Linked DNA regions of Homo sapiens: region 2 is linked to region 1. The links are contacts of gene promoters, found by promoter capture Hi-C in blood cells and fetal thymus (Javierre and others, 2016). All regions are on one chromosome and are shown on one strand. The core of a region is centred on a gene start or on the middle of the fragment in contact, and the rest is flanking DNA. Distances in the headings are between cores, read along the strand shown. Region 1 holds the start of TCP1 (t-complex 1). Region 2 holds the start of FNDC1 (fibronectin type III domain containing 1).

What was found. The method cuts DNA at HindIII sites, captures the fragments that hold promoters and counts their contacts. A CHiCAGO score of 5 or more calls a contact.
Region 2: a fragment that was not itself captured here is called in contact with the fragment with the promoter of TCP1 in region 1 in 7 of 17 cell types (megakaryocytes, total B cells, M0 macrophages and 4 more); the score reaches 12.4 in megakaryocytes.

What each region holds. Positions count from the first base shown.
Region 1 is chr6:159,788,157-159,792,028 of GRCh38, forward strand. It overlaps TCP1 (t-complex 1), which reads right to left and starts at 1,446. Exons shown (of 12, transcript NM_030752.3): 1 at 1,249-1,446. The coding sequence starts at 1,312. It overlaps MRPL18 (mitochondrial ribosomal protein L18), which reads left to right and starts at 2,311. Exons shown (of 4, transcript NM_014161.5): 1 at 2,311-2,483; 2 at 2,784-2,970. The coding sequence starts at 2,432. RefSeq lists enhancers at 644-1,308, 1,309-1,972, 2,229-2,408, 2,439-2,498. The HindIII fragment of the contact is 4,019 bases long and covers 1-3,427 here.
Region 2 is chr6:159,168,977-159,172,780 of GRCh38, forward strand. It overlaps FNDC1 (fibronectin type III domain containing 1), which reads left to right and starts at 424. Exons shown (of 23, transcript NM_032532.3): 1 at 424-729. The coding sequence starts at 621. FNDC1-AS1 (FNDC1 antisense RNA 1) reads right to left here and starts at 1,031. Exons shown (of 4, transcript NR_121668.1): 1 at 836-1,031. RefSeq lists a silencer at 303-472 and an enhancer at 1,279-1,778. The HindIII fragment of the contact is 1,395 bases long and covers 1,483-2,877 here.

The DNA.
Region 1 (3,872 bases), core at 196-2,695:
ATTAAAAATAAAAAAGAAATGAGGATAAGCCACAACTCTGAAAGACAGTAATTTCAGCCTAAAGGTAAATGACATCCAACAGCCCCCGTATTTCCCAAATCTACAAATCTGTGTTAATTATTTAAAAACCACCTACTAAGAGTGTAAATGGGGCCAGACACTGTGGCTCACAGGTGTAATCCCAACACTGCGAGGCCGAGGCAGGAGGATCGCTTGATGCCAGGAGTTTGAGACCCCTTTGGGCAACATAGCGAAACCCATTTCTACAAAAAATAAAAACAAAGCCGGATGCGGCGGCGCGGACCTGTGCTTGGAGAATGCAGTGAGCTATGATGGCACTCTCGTCTGGGCGACAGGTGGGACCCTGTCCCTAAACAAAGCGAGCCTATTTGGCACAGCTTTGATGCGGGGTGGAATCTGATGGCGGGGAAAAAAAAAAAAAGTAATAACCACCAATTTCATGCTCTGCCACTTCGTACAGCTATACCAGCCTTTTCCTTCAGATTCTGCAAGTTTTTTGCTCATTAAAACTCTCTTTATCTGTGAGGAGAGAAATCGGTAGTCAACGGGGAAGGTGGTGACTTTCAGATTTGTTTACGAAAAAAATTAGGAATCTATCAAGAAACAGTAAGCTCTGTAGGTATCCAAAGGCCTGACAGCAAACGCTCTGCTAAGTTAGCGCTGCCGTCTCCTGGGGTCAATGCACTCGAGTGGCGTTTCCTGGGCTAACTCTACTGTAAGAAGCTGTCAACCCGGATACGGCTGGACGCCGGACGCCCGACCTCGACTGCAGCTGCGGGCGGACAGGGCACCGGGCTCATCCGAGGGCGCGCGGATGGACCTACTCTTTTTCTGGTAAATGGTCCTAAAATAAAACCTGGCGTTTAACATGGACACTCAGGGGGTCGCCCTGAAACAAAAGGGGGTGCGAGGCGTGGCCCGCACGTGCGAGCCCGGGAGGCCCGCTTTCCCGCGGAGGGCGCGTTTCCAACGCCGCCCCGGACACCACATCCACGCGTTGCCGGTCTCAAAACCCTGCCGCGCGCGGCGGGGCTCCTCCTCGCTGTGGGAAAAGTGGGGCCACAGCGCCCTGCCCCAGAGAACGGCGGGTGGGCTGGGTCCGGCTGCGGGGCCCCGAGGCCCTTTCTGCGGAGGTAAAGGAGAGAAACGAGGGCAGCCGGGGTCCGGTCGCGGTGGGACTCGGCCCTCCCCGGCCGCAAACCCGACCCAGGCCCGGCCCGCCCTTACCGTTTTGGGAGCGGATCGTTTCCCCAGTGCTGCGGTCACCGAACACGGACAAAGGCCCCTCCATCTTGACGGCAGCGATACACGTCGAATTCTGCTTACACCGCGGGCAACCAGTATCGCGGCCCCTCGGCCGACCGGCGACCACAGCAGTGGCTGCGACGGCGTGGAGCGTACCCGAGCGATGTCCCAGGAGCTACTGGGTAACACACCACCCCACCCGCTTCCCGGCTGCCCCGGCCCGGCCGCGGGGCACGGCGGGAAGGAAAAAGAGGCAGGGACAACAGGGAGAGAAACAGGACTGTGACGGAAGTGAGGCTCCGGGGAAGGGGCGGGGTCGGCATTTTTGTCCAATTAGATAGCCGATGGGAAGGGCGCGAAAGCGGAGAACGGAAGTCGGATGTTGGACCGCTGGGAAGAGGTTGAACCTTCGCCTCAAACGATGTTGCGCAGACGCAGTGGGCCATTCTAGTGCCTTCTAGAAAAGGTTGTAAGAAGGGTGGAGCTTGGAGCTGGGGTGTAACTGGAGGGGCGGGCCCTTCTCCAAGTTAGAGTTGGGGTTCTGAGCGAGTCGTGCGTTTTAGGTTTAGTGTCTTTTCCTTGTCCCTGCTCGGGGAGCGTGAGGCAGATCGGCCGGCTTTGCTCCAGGCCTCAGGAGTGTAAGTTTAAGGGCGCGAACCTGGGTGGGACGGGGCAGTTTTTCCAGCGGGCCATACGGGAAAATTTTTGGTTCGAGGAAGACAACCACCCTTTTTAAGGAGAAAACTGCATCTTGCCCTGCCTTATTCCTACGCGGTGCCCAGGTGGGGTGTGTGTGGACCAGTCGATGACCGCCCAAGCTCTCCGAGTAGAAAACCCAAACATGGTTTTGTGGGGTGTGTGCCTTTGACCCCGGACTTAAGCAACAAGCGTGGTCTTGGGCGTAGCTACGAGGTGGTTGGTGGGCTCCAGGGCCTGCGTGCCCCTCGACGTGAGCGATGATTGGCGATGAAGGATAACAGATCGCCTTCTCGGCCACTCAGTGGCAGGGGACTTGCTACTTCCGGGTCGGTGGCGTCTGGCGTGGAGAGTTTGGGGATCTACAGCAGCCAAAGGCTTGTCCCTGACTTTATATGGCTGCTCCTGGCGAGCGACTGAGTCGTCCGTGAGGAAAAAGAGGCGAGGCTTTTCCGAGATCGTCTCAGCGATGGCGCTTCGGTCGCGGTTTTGGGGGTTGTTCTCGGTTTGCAGGAACCCTGGTAATTAGTCTTGCCCCCCTTCTCCCAGCTCACTCGCCTGGGCTTGCACAGTACATTGGAACGTGCGGGTTCTATTTTGTATTCGACGTGCCGGATCGAAATAGAGCTCGCGGCACTGCGAAGACCACAGTAGGAAGTTAAGGACGGGGTCAGTGCTGACTCCACCCTGTGGGCATACGTATTTTTCGTCCCCTCGGGCCTAAAGATTGGGGGTGTAAAAGCGGATAGACGTTAGAGCGGGTTCGTGCGCTGTCCATATCCGTCATTTTTAAGCCCTGTGCGGTTTTTCCCGTTGCCCAGGGTGCAGGTTCGCAGCCCTGTCAACCAGCTCCGAGCCGGCAGCGAAACCTGAAGTGGACCCTGTGGAAAATGAAGCTGTCGCCCCAGAATTCACCAACCGGAACCCCCGGAACCTGGAGCTTTTATCTGTAGCCAGGAAAGAGCGGGGCTGGCGGACGGTGTTTCCCTCCCGTGAGTTCTGGCACAGGTAATTAAATCTGCTTGTGATTGACAAGGGCAGTGCACCCTACAGACTATTTTCATTCATTCAACTCCAGGCACTCTCCCAGGTAGCTGCCATGCGGCGGGTAGAGGCAGGGTTCGCGGAGGGGCTGGAACAAACAACAAATAGGTGTGATGGGGGCTATTTAAAGAGGATGTTACAGTAGCGGACAGGATACCTGCCTGTCTGAGGTGACATTTAAGAAGGTGAGATCTGAAAGAGGAAGAAGCCTAGTCATCTGCCAGAAAGAGCAGTCCTAGCAAAGGAAACTGCTGGGGTGAGGAACTGAAGGGCTTGTGGATCTGAAGCTCAATGGGCAGAGGATGAATGGCCCAAGATGAACATGGAGGGGTAAGGAGGCGACAGATGATTAGCTTTGTAAGTCAAGATGAGCACTTTAGACTTTCTTTTCATTATAGTGGGAAACTACGAGAGGATTTAAAGCTTGAGCCCGAATTGGTTTTTCAAGATCATTCTGGCTGGGCGCATTGTCTCATGCCTGTAATCCCAGCACTTTAGGGAGCCAGCCGAAGAAGCCGGATCATCTGAGGTCAGGAGTTTGAGACCAACCTGGCCAACATGGTGAAACCCCGTCTCTACTAAAAATATAAAAATTAGAGGGGCGTGGTGGTGCACGCCTGTAATCCCAGCTACTCCAGTGGCTGAGGCACGAGAATCACTTGAACCCAGGAGGCGGAGGTTGCAGTGAGCTGAGCGCCTGGGCGACAGAGCAAAATTCTGTCTCAAAAAAAAAAAAATCATTTTAGCTGCTTTTTGGAAGATTAAATTTTTGAGGGAGCAGGACTTGAAGAAAGACCAGTTAGGAGTCTAGTATGACTTGAGATACTTTGTTATAAAGGTGGTTGTTTAATGAACACTTACATTTG
Region 2 (3,804 bases), core at 930-3,429, 620 kb before region 1:
CGGGTGCGGGTAGGGACGTGGAAGGACTGGGCTAGCCACAGGAACTACAGCGCTGCGGACCGGGTGAGGGGTCCCGGCCCGAGTCCCCACTTGGGGCGCAGAGGTGTTTCTGTAAGGGGACAAAGGGCACTCCTCGGCGCGATGGGCGACTTCCCCAGCCAGAAAATGAGAGGGTTAGACGAGGGGAGGAACTTCCTCAGCCACTTGGCCCGGCACAGCGACCGCCCCAAGTTCAGAACCGCTAAGTCAGTCCGGGGCGCTCCGGCCCCTTCGTCCCGCGCCCCGCCCGCCTCCAGCCCGGGCCCCGCCGCCCCCGTCGCCCCTGTCGCCCGGGTCGCCCCCGCCGGCCCTGGCCCCGGCCCCGCACACCGGCAGGGGGCGCCCGAGCGCAGCTAAAAGGCTCGGCGGGAGGTCGGCGGCCTCAGTGGCGGAGCGCGGCTGCCGGTGTGCGGCCGGGAGCGATCGCCGCGGGGCAGGGGCGCGGCGGGCACCGCGCAGAGCGCGCAGAACAGACGGACGGCGGCGGGGACCCGACGGCGGCGCCTCGGCACTCCCCAGACTCCGGCCAGCGCCCCCCTGCCAGCCGCAAGCACCCAGCCCCGGCCCACCCCGGGCTCTCGATGGCCCCCGAGGCCGGGGCGACCCTGCGCGCGCCGCGCCGGCTGTCCTGGGCGGCGCTGCTGCTCTTGGCCGCGCTGCTCCCCGTCGCCTCCTCGGCGGCGGCCTCAGGTACGCGCCGCGCCCGGGCCCCCGGCGCTCCTCAGCTCCCCGCGCACCCTCCTGCGCTCGGGCCCCGTCGTCCCGCTCAGTGCTGGCTACGGGTCGTGTCACTAGCCTGTGCGTCCTCGTCACTCGCGGGTCGGGGCACTTGGCGCCCTGTGTGGGTGGCGGGAGCGGGGACGCCTCGGTGCCCGGGGACCGCAGCGCGCTGGCGTTTAACTTTGCCGTCGCCCGCCTTGGAGTCGGGAGGCTCCAGCCGTCTAAGTGTCCCGGGAGATTCAGGCACAGCGGGGAAAAAAGGAAAAGAAAGGCGACTTTCAGCGTGCGGACTGGGGTAATGCCTTTCTTTGCCCAGAATTTCTCGGGAGCGTAGGTGGTCATCCTACTTTCTCCGCGTTCACCTCTCGCGAGGCAGGATGACGGGCGCACTCGGGAGACCGGAGGGAGGCAGAGCAGGGCTGTTCTAGAAGGTCGTGGGGGAAAGGCTGCGAGCTGCCGCAGGGCGTCGGGTGCCTCTGCGCTCCAGAGGAGAAGCGCTCCAGTGCCAGCTCGGCTCCAGGCGGCAGGAGGCCCGCGCGCCCGGGGGGAACGTTCAAGCTGGGAGAAAATGTTTGTCTTGAGAGGAGGGAGAGGGAAATGAGAAAGCTGATTCCAGAGAAACTCGCCCTTCCCCAATGGCTGAGGCTGCAGCCAGGATGGATGCTTCCTTTGAGAGCAATGCTTTTCAGAAAATGCTAGCGCGCTCCTGTCAGATTTCTTGCAAGCTTCCTGCAGAGAGAGACAAGTTTGTGGCGAGGTTTTCATTCCTAAGCCTTTGGCGGCCCTTGTTACCACCTCCTTTGCAGGCATTTTTACACTTGAAACTGGCTTTTAGGTTATTGGTTTGTAGAAATCCAAGAAGCAGACAATGATCGTCAGATACTATTCCAACGAGGGTACCAGTTTTATGATGCTATTTAGTGTATATATTGTTCTCTTACTTCAGGGGTAAAGGAAGAAAAGTTGGGGATCACATTACTTTGTGACTTTTTGGTAGATACATCATCCCAATGCTTGGCTCAGGTTTATGCGAGGTATTCTGATGCCAATGCCACTTTCTCATAAAAGGCAGTGCCTGCCGTAGGGTCTTTTTCTTCCCATTAGTGAACTCTAGGAAAGTATTCACTGAATACTTTGCACAGTACTTGAGAGGAATAAAACTAAATAAAGTCTTCCAACTTCCCCACCTACAACTCCTGGCTTTTGTTTTTCTAAGTGAAAATTTTCAGAGTGCTGGAAGAGTTTTTGTTTCTGAAAATGATCTGAAACTGGAACCAGTGCTGCCCTGGCTTTGTGGCGATTCCAGCCTTCTGCTTTTCCGATTCCTCTGCCACCTGCCCGTGGGTTGCATGTGAGTGGGTCCGAGCGGGGTTGTTTGTGAGAGCTCCTGGAATCCCACCGCGATCTGCACTCTTGCTTTTTCGCCTTCTGCTCTGTGAATCACTGTGCTGAGGAATGCTGGGGCTGGACAGCTTCCCAGCCCTTCTCTCTACTGTGTTGACGTGGGATCTACAGTCAAATGATGACCAGACTAGAGGTGGACAAAGGAGGACAGGCACATTTCAGAATGAAATCTACTAAATTTAAATTAAGTAATAGAAGGATAGAAACAGACATAGCAACCTGTAGATAGCTCCCCATGCTGTGGATGAAATTATGGGGTACATAACTTCTTTCATGGGCTCCCTTTGACAGCAACGTCATGGATAGACTGCTCCCTCTCTCTGGTTGAACTAATGCATGGACCAAGCGAGCTGCTTGTGTCAAGCTCTCCCCTTCACCACCCTTTTGGGGCCAGAATCTCTGTAAGGAAATTACCCACGGCCACATAATAGTGGCTCCGAGGGACTTTGCTTAAAGCAGGACACACTGAAGATCTGGATAAGCCCTTCAGTGTAGGGTCAATTAAACATAAAACAAAATAAGCAAGCAGTGTCCCCTCCTCCACTCATATTCATCCCTACAATAGGATACTATGCAAACATTAAAATTATGATGGCCTTGCCAGTCTGGTATGATACATTTTTCTAAACACATGTGGATGTACTCACACATGCACATATTTGCAGTGGGTATCTTAGGATGGTTAGGGATGATTTTTATTTTCTTCTTTAAAGAAGCTTTTAGGGAATTTTCCATGTCAAAACTATTTTCAAAGTAATACTAAGATTACTAAGATGCTATTTTCCTTTTTCACAGTTGACATTTGCACTGAGGGTGCAAAAGCTTGATGGGTAAACTGCGGGTGTCTTACTGAGAATCAAGGCAGGGACATCACCATGCACTAGTAGTCTTTGAATTTTGGGGGGACTTTGCAGTTAAAAAAAATTTGCCAGTTTCATTAAGAATGTTCTTGATGCCACAGTAAAATTATTAATTTTACCAAATCTTTGTATCTTTGAGTGTATGTCTTTTTAATAGTGTAAATAAATGGGAAGGACACATAAGTTACTACTGCTGATGACCAAGTTCAGTGGCAACCCCAGGGGGAAGCACTGGTGTGATTGTTTGTGTTATGCATTAAGCTAGCTGGTTTTTTAAAATGGAATGTGGTATTTACCACAAAGAATGACAACAGACAAACTAGAGCTATTCTGACTTGGGTATTTGGCCGATGTTTTCTCAAAAATGAACAAAGGGAACTTGCTACTTCTAGTAAAATAACTGCTATTATTGCTTGCCAATGATAACATTTCAGCTTTCAAGTGAAAATCAGAATTTTGCCAAGTTGTTTCCACCACTGTAAGCTTGAAAGTTTCCCAATATTTAAATTTTTTTCTAGTGAGATCAATGGTGATATAAATGAATGTGATTTGTAAATGTCATCTCATAAAATGTGTCAACATTTGGATGATCTGCATAACCAAATAAACCAATAGATCCAAATGACCAGTGTATAGCCTTACAACAATCTTGCATGGGTAAAAGGTCTGTTCAAAGTGCATGATAGCCCAATGGATTTTTAATGTAACAAAATATGAAAAATTCTTCATATGATTTCAGATTCTAAGAATTGGCTACTTGATGAATTTTGGTGTAATATCA